Linked DNA regions of Homo sapiens: regions 1 and 2 are each linked to region 3. The links are contacts of gene promoters, found by promoter capture Hi-C in blood cells and fetal thymus (Javierre and others, 2016). All regions are on one chromosome and are shown on one strand. Each heading gives the region's core, a stretch centred on a gene start or on the middle of the fragment in contact. The rest is flanking DNA. Distances are from core to core; before and after follow the strand shown. Region 1 overlaps LOC107986455 (a long non-coding RNA gene). Region 2 overlaps SPRY4-AS1 (SPRY4 antisense RNA 1). Region 3 holds the start of SPRY4 (sprouty RTK signaling antagonist 4).

Region 1 (3,885 bases), core at 1,336-3,835, 140 kb before region 3:
GCTCAGAATTCTCTGATGAGAGATGAGCAAACAGGAAAAGCTGGGACTGCAGGGGGAACAGCCTCCTGTTCCAGCAGCAAGGAGACCCTTGGACTTGAAGATAAGCCCAGGAGGTAACTTGTTCTCCTGGCTTCCTTGTGATAAAGGCAATAACTCTCTGAGGTGGAATCAGAAACGAAGAGAGGCGGCCAGTGAGTGTGGGTGACCCAAAGGGACCGCAGGGCGTGCAGGGCTGGTGCTGCAGGCCTTGTCTGCAGGCTCAGGGCCATGACCGCCCAGAACCAAATGGCCTTTACCCAGCTGAGCTTGCCTAGCTCCTCACTATCACAAAGGCTGCTGTAGGAGCCCCACCTGGCTCTCCCTGAGCTGGACCCCTGCCAGGGCTGCTTGCGGGGCTCTCAGCCTAATTCTAAGCTTCTTTCTGCTCCCCTCTCAACCAGAGCAGTCAGCTACTTCTTAGGGAGCAGACGGGACCAGAATGTCCTGGGGTTGGAAGGTTTGCTCTCTATTTTGTTATTCTGGGAATGATATGCTTGATTTTACTTAATTATAAGACATTTATTGAATTTCTGCCGAGTGGCAGGTAGCTGACTGTGCTAGGTGCTGGAGGTGCAAAGGTGAACTGATCCTGACTCTTCCCTGCAAGCACAGTGAGTTTGTGCCCTGATGCTCTGAACTACAGGCCAAGAATGGGAGCAGCGGTTCTGCCTCAGGCTGTGAGGAGGGCTGGGGAAGTCTTTAGAGGGGAGCAGACTTTAGGCAAAGCCTTGAAAGATAAGGGGAGTGATATGGTTTGGCTCTGTGTCCCCACCCAAATCTCATCTTGAATTGTAATCCCACATGTTAAGTGAGAGAGGGACCTCTAATCCCCATGTGACAAGGGAAGGAGGTGATTGAATCACGGGGGCAGTTTCTTTCATGCTATTCTCGTGATGGTGGGTGAGTTCTCACGAGATCTGATGGTTTTACAAGTGTTTGACAGTGTCTCCTTCACACACTTGCTCTCTCGCCTGCTCCATGTAAGACGTGACTGCTTCTCCTTCTGCCAGGATTCTAAATTTCCTGAGGCCTCCCCAGACCTGAAAAACTGTGAGTCAATTAAACATCTTTTCTTTATAAATTACCCAGTCCCGGCCAGGCACAGTGGCTCACACCTGTAATCCCAGCACTTTGGGAGGCCAAGGTGAGCAGATCACTTGGGGTCAGGAGTTCAAGACCAGCCTGGCCAACATGGTGAAACCCCATCTCTACTAAAAATACAAAAATTATCCGGGCGTTGTGGCGGCCGCCTGTAATTCCAGCTACTCAGGAGGCTGAGGCAGGATAATCGCTTGAACCTGAGAAGCAGAGGTTGCAGTGAGCCAAGGTTGCGCCACTGCACTCCAGCCTGGGCAACAGAGTGAGACTCCATCTCAAAAATAAATAAATAAATAACCCAGTCTGGGGCAGTTCTTTATAGCAGTGTGAAAATAGACTAATATAGGGAGCCTTTCCATGGTTGGCAAAGATAGGAAGGACTTTCCAGACCAAGGAAAATGCTTGAACAGATGTCTGGAGGTGTTGGAGGAATGGATACTGTTGGGTGAGATTGGAATGCAGGGAAAAGCTGGGGCAGGTTGGAGAGTCAGAGCTCAGAGGTGTGATGAGAAAGCCCTCTGGAGGCACACAGACTAGCTGCACAGCCTTGGGCAAGTCATTTCACTTCTCTCAGCTACAGTTTATTTATCTGTATAATGGGGATAATATAACCTACTTCATAAGATTGTTGTGAGAATTAAAAGATATATCAGATGTAAATCAGCCAGCATGGAGTCCGGCAAATACATGCTCACAAAATGTCAATTACTGGCACTGTTTCTACTGCTACTAATAAAAAGTGGGCTGTTCTTTTCTAAACCATGCGGCTTGAGTCACTGGAGTCAGCCAGCAGTGCTGCACTCCTATACCAGGTCAGGTCTTATGATTCCATTTAGAAAGATACTATCTGGTACAGGACGCTAATGGAAGAAAATGCACATGGCTGGCTTGCTTGGGGCTCTGCTGCCGTATTTTTCTGACGGTTATATCAGGCCAGCAGTGTGGCTCTTGACATCAGTAATGCATTCATTACTTTTTATTACACACCTATTTATTACAAACCTGCTATGTGTCAGGTACTGGATCCAATGTCTTAGTAAGAGTAGGTGAATAAAGCTGACAGGGAAGAGAGAAACAAATTCTTTTCAAAACTGACTTTGTAAATGTATTGGAAGCCATAATTTAACTGCGTACTATGACCCTGTACCTGGAAACTTGTTCGGGGTCTGGGGGGAGAGTTCTTTCTGTATGTCTCTATTATTGACATGTGAGTGCCTCAGGAGTAGCCACTGTGGGGACTGGGTCACTTTGTCCATTTGGACACTCGACAGGTATTTATGCACACCTACTATGTGCCCAGCAATATTCTATGCATTAGCTGGTCATTGAGATGTGAAGAGCTCTTTCAGGATGATAACGATTATCTCTAAAATGATCATTTTTGTTTTAGAAAGAATCAAGCCCACTTTCTCCTGCCTGTTCTTTCTCAGATAGACTTGGTAAGAGGAAGGGGGAAATGCATGCACCTGCATCGCTGTCAGTAAACTGCCGTTCAAGCAGCAACTTAAGCTGGAGTCAAATGCTACTCAGGAGTGATGGGCAGGGAAAGGGTTCGGGTGGGGTGGGGCGTTAGCTCCTGTTTTAGAGCTCTGGTTGTCTTTTTCTGTAGGGCGTGGGCTGGTTTCCCTAAAGGACAACTGCTGGACTCGTCCATCCAGGATGTCACATTTCACTCTCAGCTGACACAGTGATGGTGGTGGGGGGGAGTGGCGAATCCGTTCAAGGAAAAGGCAACTACTTACTTTCCCTACCCTATCCCCACACTTTGAAATCAGTATCTACAGGAGATAGTTTATCCCCTTATATTTATTTAGAGGAAAGATTTTCCTCAAACATGGTCAGAAGAAGACTAAAGAATAATAATGAAACTAATTTAATGGCCAGGTAGTAGCCATCATTTTGGAGAATTTATAATGTTCTAAGCAAATAGGTGCTTTTCATACATATCTCATTTAATCCTAACAACAATCTTGTCAAGTTCATGCTATCATTTCCATTTCACAGACAAGGAAAATTGAAACCAAGAGGATGGGTAAGTCCATGGTTACATAGTTGGTGAACAGAAAAGCTGGGAGTCTAACCTGTCTCTCTCAGGCTTCAGAGGGCATGGCCTCCACACCAGCACTCTCCTGGTGGAGGGGTTGATGCTGCCACGAGAGTCTCTTCTCCCCTTGATTTTTTCTCTTCTCTTCTCTTCCTTTCTTCCTCCTATCCCCTCCACCCATTTCTTAATGATTCTTTAATTAACCAAGCAAGGTTAGAAAACTTTGATGAGCTTCCTCTAGCAGTGGGGCCGTTTATCTTTTTTTCTTTTTTTTTTTTTTTTGAGGCAGAGTTTCGCTCTTGCTGCCCAGGCTGGAGGGCAATGGCGCAATCTCAGGTCACTTCAACCTCCACCTCCCGGGTTCAAGTGATTCTCCTGCCTCAGCCTCCCGAGTAGCTGGGATTACAGGCATGCGTCGCCACGCCCCGCTGATTTTGTATTTTTAGTAGAGATGGGGTTTCACCATGTTGGCCAGGCTGGTCTCAAACTCCTGGCCTCAGGTGATCCATTCGCCTCGGCCTTCCAAAGTGCTGGGATTACAGGCGTGAGCCACCACTCCCGGCAGGGGCCATTTATCTTTTTTTTATTTTTTTGAGACAGAGTCTTGCCCTGTTGCCCAGACTGGAGTGCAGTGGCACAACCTTGGCTCACTGCAACCTCTGCCTCCTGGGTTCAAGCAATTCTCCTGCCGCAGCCTCCCAAGT
Region 2 (3,867 bases), core at 475-2,974, 140 kb after region 3:
GAGGCCAGGTGCACTGACTCACACCTATAATCCCAGCACTTTGGGAGGCTGAGACAGGAGGATGGCTTGAGCCCAGGAGTTCAAGACTAGCCTGGGCAACATAAAAGACCTTGTCTCTACAAAAAATAAAAAAATTGACCTGGCACAGTGTCATGTGCCTCTGGTCCCAGCTACTTGGGAGGCTCAGGTGGGAGAATCATCTGAGTTCAGGAGGTTGAGGCTGCAGTGAGCTATGATCACACCACTGCACTGCAGCCTGGGTGATGGTGAGGCCCTGTCTTAAAAAAAAAAAGACTAAATGAAGAAATGCCTGGAAAGGGCTTAGATCATGGTAAGTGCTTATTAAATGTTAGTTATAATTATCACAGTTAAGCAATATAATTTGTGTCCTTATAAGGAAGAACATTCAGTTTCTCATGTCAGAATAGACAGTGAAGAAGGAAATAAACAGAACACAGGTGCACTTAAATGGATTTTGACCAAAATCTTGCAGAAGAGAGCCTAGGAGAGTTTTCAAGCTATGTTAGAAGTGTTTATCAATTCAGAAGCGAGATTGAGTGACATGGGTCTGGGAAGGTTGAAAGGGAGGAAAAAAAAGAAAATGAATTTTATATCCCTGTTATCTTGACTGTCAGTAGCCTGTGTAAAGCACCCATTGTGTGCAGTGTGCCCCATTAGATATATAGGATTGCACAGATATAGATGAGCTGACCTCTCCTCACATGGAGTTGACCATACATGTTGTCATGATCAGTAAAACAAGTGTAGTAATGATATAAGAACTAAACACAGCAAATGGGCAGGATCACAAATCTAGCACAGGCCTGACTGTATCCAGCTGAAGGCACATCACCTCAGGGACTTCATACATCTCTCTGATAAGTTGCATACCCGCTTCTTGTACTGTGCTTTTCTAGATGCTCTAGGAAATTCGCAGCCTTATCCCTGATTTTAGTGTTGTTTTGGAAGGTAACTGGGGAGCCTATTTAGGAAGCTTTGATGATAGTCCAGGTAATAGGAGATAAGCCCAAATGGGGACAGTGGGATTGGAGAACAGAGAGCAGGTGCAGAAGCTGGTGATATTACATTGGTAAATATCAGTAGGACCCAGCAAGAATGAGGGATAAAGGGGCACGTGCTGCAGTTCTAGCCTGGGTGACCACAGAGTCCTATTCGCAGAGCTTGGGAGACACTGGAGGAATTTGGACCAGTGGTTCTCATGTTCTATAGTGTTTAGGAGTCAACTTTGGAGATTGTTAATGCAGATTCCTAGGATCCACCGCAGGCCTACCGAATCTGAATCTCTAAAGTAGACCTGGAAATCTGCCTTTTTAGCAGGAACCCCAGAGGATTCTGATGCAGGTGGTCTGCAGATCACGCCTTGAAAAATGCTGGTCTAGAGAAAATAAACATCTTAGCTTTGGTCCTCCAGAAAGCAGAGTCGGAGGCAAGGACCCTGGTGCTAAAACTTCATCTGGGAGGTGAAATCGCAGGGTGAGGGTGTGTGGGGCACAGGGAGAGACAACGGGATACATGAATTTCTTTCATTTTCTTTTTTTTCTGCTGGCTATCATTTCCAAATAAGCCATGAAGGATCAAGCAGGTCACTCAGCATGCAGGGCTCTTCCAGACAATTTACTGGAGGAATCCGGCCTTAGCATAGCGGGAGAAAGAAGGAAACAGGAATCCAGCTCTTTCCCACTCTGCCCCTGCTCCTGTTTCTCATTGGTAAAGCACTCTTTGGGGGCTCAGGGTTGTATCACCCATCCTCTCAGTGGCCTCTCAGGAAGCTGGACCTCAGACCATTAGGGGTAGAGGGGCAACCAGGACAGATGGGATCCTGGCCTAGAGAGAAAGGAAGAAGGAAGCAGCGGAGGGTGTCTGAGAAGGTACACAGACTTGTTTCCAAAGAGAGTAAAGAAGTGACGCTGGGAAAGGTAGATTTTTTTTTTTCAGTTCTGTAAGTAATTACAGTTTTGAAGTTGAATAAGAAAGTAGGGAACTTGTCTAAATAGAGTTATATTAACAATGGGAATAAGAAAGGAAGCCTAGAATTTGTACCCATCATACATTTTCTTTAAATTTTTCTTTATTTGTATTCCTTTCTTCAGAACAACTTCCAGTAAAAGAAGGCACTGAGGTTTAAGTGCTACGTGGGAGCAGTTGCCGATTTTTGCAATGGGAGGCTGCATAGATTCAAGGTATCACTTGTTTATTTTATATCCTGAATTAACTTTCCACCTTCCCAGTCCAAAGTTCTAACAAAAGATTTCACTTGGACTAGAGAGCAAATGATTTTGTGACTCTCATCCAAAATCCCACAGCTTTTTCTCTGAAGACCTGTAAGTTCCTAAGACACTCTAAAAGGAATATAAAAATAATAATTGTAATTCTTAAGGAGTGCCAATTACATACTGGATTCCAGAGAGTAATAACTTTGCTTAAGGTTTACGTGAAGCTTTCCCTCTGTGTGTTACCAGAACTTGGCTAACATTATATGCTGGCAAATGGCATTAATCTGTCACAGAAATAGGGGGAATTTAGTCACAGGAAGTTTAAATAACTGATCATGTCCTACAAGGCATTGCCAAGAAATGGACAATTAGATTTACTTTCCACTACCATCCTGAACCATGTAAAAATATCTTGGGTGGCTGCGAGATCTGATTCTAGGAAGAAATATCCCTTGGCTCTCGTAAAGATGTTGATAACTCAGTTGTGAGAAATTGATTTTAGCGGGTGTGTGTGTGTGTGTGTATGCATGTTTGCTTGGGGACAGGGTGTAAAAAAAAATAGCTGTTTTTAATGCAGTCGAACTATGTGTGAGGATAGGTTAGAGGATGGGTGACGACGGATAGGTGATTCAGGGTTTCAGTAGAAGTTAAAGGATGGAGAAGTGAACAACGTGTAGATTCTTTTTTTTTTTTGAGATGGAGTCTCGCTCTGTCGCCCAGGCTGGAGTGCAGTGGTGCAATCTCGGCTCACTGCAAGCTCCACCTCCCAGGTTCATGCCATTCTCCTGCCTCAGCCTCCTGAGTAGCTGGAACTACAGGCGCCCACCACCACGCTCGGCTAATTTTTTGTATTTTTAGTAGAGACGGGGTTTCACCATGTTAGTCAGGATGTTTGCGATCTCCTGACCTCGTGATCTGCCCGCCTCGGCCTCCCAAAGTGCTGGGATTATAGGCGTGAGCCACCGTGCCCGGCCAACAATGTGTAGATTCTTAAGTGCCCATAGGTAATGTGGAATCAAGAAGTAAAGAAAAGTTTTGAGCAAAAAAGGAAAGGGCAAAATAGAGAATAGAAAGAAATGAGAAGGTAGTGTCAAGCAAAGAAACGGAAGGAGAGACAAACTGCTGTAGGAGGTGAAAGTAATCCACTCAGGGAATTATTGGAAGAGATACATGCCTTGTAAAAAGAAAAGCAGGCCCGGCGTGGTGGCTCACATCTTAATCCCAGCACTTTGGGAGGCCAAGGTGGGTGGATCACCTGAGGTCAGAAGTTCGAGATCAGCCTGGCCAACATAGTGAAAACCCGTCTCTACTAAAAATACAAAAATTAGCCAGGCATGGTGGCATGCGCCTGTAATCCCAGTTACTCAGGAGGCTGAGGCATGAGAATTGCTAGAACCCAGGAGGCAGAGGTTGCAGTGAGCTGAGATCTCAGCACTGAGCTCCAGCCTGGGTGACAGAGTGAGATGCTGTAAAAAAAAAAAAAAAAAAAAAAAAATGCTGTTTACTAGCTGCATGTTTGAGAGAGAGGTTGGTTATTGGTGACTGGGTCTGTAATGTTTAGTCAAAAAGGTTTTATTGAGCAACAGCCTCATACAAGGCATTGAGGCAGCAAGGGGAAGAAGAATTTGCCTCT
Region 3 (4,380 bases), core at 1,141-3,640:
CTGGAAAAGGTCATGGAGCTGGGCAGGAGGGCTAAGGGCAAGAGGGCATTTACACTCCACTGAAAGGGAGTGACTCCTGATAACCAACAGATGCCTTTAAAGTCTGCTCACTGTAACTGACCAATATTTGTCCATGAAGATTTCAGAAATCTGCTACTAAAATCCCCACCCTACACCCGTACTGGCCACATGGCGTGGTTGGTAAGTGTGTGTGCTGTTCACCACATTAGGATTTGCTGGAGCCTCGCAGCACGTGAGAACCCTCCCAAGAGATGGGAAAGAGGAAATGTGATTTCACACTGGACATCTCCACTAGTTCTTTCCCACCCTTCTGGGAGACAGAGAGGGAGAGAGAAAGAGAAATCTTTAACTGCAGCCCTGCCTCTCCTAGCTCTCCTGACACCCGCCCTAAAAAAAAAAAAAAAAAGGCTGAAAATTTCAGAGATGTTTATGCTCCATTTGTGTGAAGATCTGGAGAACTCCAAACATTGTGAAATCCACCAGTGCAATATTGGGTAGGGCCTCAGGCCAGACTGAGCTCATTAAGAGATTGATAAACCCGCAGTTCCCAACTTCTCTGAGCCTTATACCTTCCAGCTTTGAATCCCGAGAGACTTGTCAGGGAGGTTAGTGCCTCGGTCAGCTACAGACACAGACGAGTGCTTGCTCCCGCCCCTCTGCAAGTTCTTTGGCCTCCAGTGTGTCTGGCCTCTCCCAAAACTGGAGAGAATCACGCCACTGATTTGGAGGCAGGAAAGAAGGGGATGCCACTAGGTTTGGGCACCCCACTGTACACTCTTCTTTCCAGCACTAACCGCGCTGGGGGGTACGGAAGCCTTGCTGCGCCAGAAGGCGGCCTCCTGCCCTCACAGAGGCCTTGGCAATATGGATGCCCCTCCAGCAGCTGGTGAAAGAGGCAGCCAGCAGCTCCCTACTCTGCCTACCATCTAGCCCCTCCAGCCCATTTCGCCTCTCTTGCCCATCCTTCAGCCCTATAAGCCACGCAACCATTTTCTGTCTCCCCTGCCTCTCCTGCCCACAACCCCCTGCCCCCAATCAAGGAGAATTGAGAAACCGTCTTCTTGCACAAGAGCAGCTACTGTCTAAATGCTTTTTGATCGTCTGCATGGAGGGGGAACTGGGCACAGCCCTGGACCCAGTGATGGAGCCAAGCTCTAGCTGCCCTGGCTAGCCAAACCCGCCCTCACCCAGCTCACTGTCCCCGGGGTCTTGGCGATTCAGAATTTGTCAGAACATACCGTCTCTATCCTCTTCTCTGTGATGTCAAGCCTGGTACCACCAAGAAGGAAGGAGGGAAAGCAGGAGCCTTATCTCTCCTACATTCGCAACCTCTTCCTCCAGCTCCCACACGCCTGGTGTTATGTAAACGCACCTTCAACCCCCACCGCAGCCCTAGCGCGGCCTGGGGGCTCCGGGGCCTGGCACAGCTCGGTGCCCGAGGATAGGGAGGTACAGGGTGGCCGAGGAGCCTCAGGCCTTACAGAGGCCAGGCAAGAAAAAGTCAACTGCAAGGCAGTTGCATAGCATAAAATGCGGCAGCGGAGCAAAGGTCAGACGGCGAGGAACCGCCTCGCCAAGGAGAGGGAGTAGGAATGCCCAGTCCTGAGCCAGCCCCTCGCTGACCATCGAGGGAGAGGCAGAAGGGGAGGGAATTCAGTCCGTCACGGCTCCGAAGAGAAAGAAAAAATCTACGTCGAGCATAGGCCGCTACGGCGGGCTGGGAGATACACGGCAAAGCTGGCACCGTGGGCACCGAGCTGGGAGGTGGGCGAGCCGCCCAGAGCGAGGGCGCCCCCCGACCCAAACGGTGGCTCCTGACCAAGCCCAGAGACGCCCGTTCCAGCGTTCGAGGCGGATGGTGGCAGGAGAAGGAAAGAGGCCAGGCCAGAGGCAAACTCCCGGGACACGCACGGGGCTTCCCGAGTCTCAGAGGGCGGGGAAGCCGGGCTTGGCAATGCCCAGGGGTCGGAAACGGCGGTGCCAGGCTGTGAACACCCCCGGCGCCGTGCCGGCCGGGCCGAGGGCGTCAGGGAGCTGCGGCGCACCGCAGCGACTCAAGGAGGCGCAGGCTGAGGGAAGGAACACTGAGGCGCGCCTAGAAATAGCGCACCATTTGCCCCAGCCCAAGGGGGGAGTCGCGTCGCGGCTCAGAGAGGGGCAGTTTCAGATCTCCAAACCAGCCATGGACTTACTTTGAGGAGCTGCAGGGTCACAAGCATCGCCCCACGTCTGTGTAAATCCTGAAGCCGGGGCAGGTTAGCCGCCGCTGTACTCGCAGACGCCGGTCGGAGGAACCGGCAAGGCTCCCTGCGCTCCACAGCGCCAGCTCCGCGCTGTCAGCTCAGCTCGCTACCTCCGCGGCGATGTTGCAACCACTGCCTGGGAAAATGGCTTTTTTATGAATGGGAGGGAAGGGAGCGCCAGTGCGCACGCGTGCCGTTCGCGATTCTATGAATGGGTGGGCACAACAGACCCTGAGCGCGCATGCGCTCCGCTCCTTTTTTTATGAATGGGGGGCGGGAAAAGATCTTAACCCGTGATTGCTGGGACTGGCTCAAGCTCCACCAGGAGCCGTCGTTCTTTTACAAAGAGGGGTGGAGGTTCCAGTGGAGGCTGTTGTTGCCTTTTTTTTTTTTTTTTTAATGAATGGAGGGCGGCGGCGACTGCTGCAGCTGGGCCAGCTGCGCGGGCTGCACCCCCTCCCAGCCTGCGAGAGGAGGTAAAGGCCACCTTCACGCCACTGCGGGCCTGGGCAGGAACCGTCAGTGTCGCTGGGGGGTGGGGGACGCTGCGGCCTCCGGATCCCGGGTTGAGAGCAGGGTGGTGGAGGGCACACCTAGATCTGGGGATCTCTGCCCCCCGCAGGCAGTCAAAAGGGGGGGCGGGAGGACCCCTACTGGGGGCCTTCTCTTGCTCTAGACCAGAGACGCCAGGCGGGAGGGGTCTTGAAGCTGCGTTTACCAAAAATTAGGAAAATGTCCATCATTCATATCAAAGGGTGGGGTGAGGATTGGTGAGTGAATCTGGTTCTTTTTCCTGAGGCTGAATCTCTCGTGAGTGCTGGCCGCCCCTCCCCCCATTTCTTGGGTGTAGACAGTGACTGGGCCCAGGCCTCTTCCGGCTCCAGTACCCCCCGGGGCGATTCTGGCAACTCAGCCAGAGGAAGCCTGGCCCTCGCCTCCCAGCGTTCCCCCCGCCCCCCGCCCCAGTGCAATGTCCGCAGTGCCCGGGCGTCTGCCCGCTCTCTGTCGCCCTAGCTAGGTGTCCTTTCTCTGTCCCAGTCGGTTTCCCAGCCCTCACAGGACGCTGGCCTGAGGAGCCTCGGTCCACCGAAGGCCCACGGCCCTTCGCTGTTGTAGGCGCCTTTCCCCAATATCCCCCACCTCTCACCGGCCTCCCCTCCGGGGAAGTGGGAGCGGCCGAGAACTGGCCAGGTGGATGGGTGGAGCCGGCTGCGCCGAGGATGCTGCCGGGGTGGCCTCAGGATTAAATAACAACGGGGCTCTTGAGCCGCAGAGGAAATGGAAATGGCTGGGGATCCTTTCTTCGCTGTTAATGATGGTGGCGTTGGGGGGCGGGGGTGAGGATCAGCTCAAGCCGGTGAAAAGAAAAGCCCCCGCCATTAGGCCTGACTCCAGGAAGGCGGGGAGCCCTCGCAGCAGGCCCTGCTCCTCCCTGGAACGGAGGAGCCTGTAGCCTCCGGGAAGTCCGGGGCGGGGGGTGGCTTTGATGCGTGGATAAGAGCAGAGTCTGGGCCAGGGCTTGGCCCTGAGTCCCTTGTAAGGTCTGTCTTGCCGCTGTTCTGGCCGCACGGGGAGATTGTGTGGCAGTCTTTTTCTTCCTACGCCACTATAGGATTGTGCTTGGCTGTTGTCAGAGGAACCAATGAAAGGCTCCCAGCCCAGGGCTGAGGTCTGGCCTAGGGCTGGGGCTGGGACTCTAGAGGCAGGCAGCCCAAGGTCACCGAGTCCTAGCCTAAAATGCCTTCTCACCATTCGGCTCACCCCTCCGTGTACTTACCCAGCTCCTGAGGGCAGAGCAGACTCTCCCCTAGGGAACCTCAGCCTTCCTTTCAGGGGCGAGACCTTTCTCTAAGACCAAGAGAACTCTTCGCCAGAAAAATGGGTACAGTTGTCCAGGACTTCCTTTTAAGGCTGTTGAAGTTCAGTATCGCCCTCTCTGTCAGCTGTAGAAACTGAGGCCAAGGGTCCTGCACCGGGTATATGGAAGAGCTGGTAAATTGTAGCACTTATTTTCTAGGTCTTTGCAACCTGGCTTTACTTTGCTACCAACCCTTCTCAGCATCACAGACCTAAAAACCTGTTTCTCGCATGTCATTTAAGCATTTTAAACAATGAA

The links. Contacts are between HindIII fragments. The CHiCAGO score rates a contact against its expected background, and 5 or more counts as called.
Region 1: a fragment that was not itself captured here is called in contact with the fragment with the promoter of SPRY4 in region 3 in 1 of 17 cell types (endothelial precursors); the score reaches 6.1 in endothelial precursors.
Region 2: a contact is called between a fragment that was not itself captured here and the fragment with the promoter of SPRY4 in region 3, in 1 of 17 cell types (endothelial precursors). The highest score is 5.1, in endothelial precursors.

What each region holds. Positions count from the first base shown.
Region 1 is chr5:142,181,056-142,184,940 of GRCh38, forward strand. The region is part of intron 1 of LOC107986455 (a long non-coding RNA gene); the gene reads right to left. Among named protein-coding and RNA genes, the nearest start is that of NDFIP1, 74 kb to the left of the region's middle. RefSeq lists enhancers at 1-288, 3,249-3,885 and a silencer at 515-715. The HindIII fragment of the contact is 4,346 bases long and covers 413-3,885 here.
Region 2 is chr5:142,461,859-142,465,725 of GRCh38, forward strand. It overlaps SPRY4-AS1 (SPRY4 antisense RNA 1), which reads left to right. Exons shown (of 4, transcript NR_120664.1): 4 at 2,112-2,196. Among named protein-coding and RNA genes, the nearest start is that of SPRY4-AS1, 140 kb to the left of the region's middle. The HindIII fragment of the contact is 1,464 bases long and covers 993-2,456 here.
Region 3 is chr5:142,322,631-142,327,010 of GRCh38, forward strand. SPRY4 (sprouty RTK signaling antagonist 4) reads right to left here and starts at 2,391. Exons shown (of 2, transcript NM_001127496.3): 1 at 2,214-2,391. It overlaps SPRY4-AS1 (SPRY4 antisense RNA 1), which reads left to right and starts at 2,663. Exons shown (of 4, transcript NR_120664.1): 1 at 2,663-2,740. RefSeq lists enhancers at 389-1,353, 1,354-2,316, 1,798-1,857. The HindIII fragment of the contact is 6,861 bases long and covers 1-4,380 here.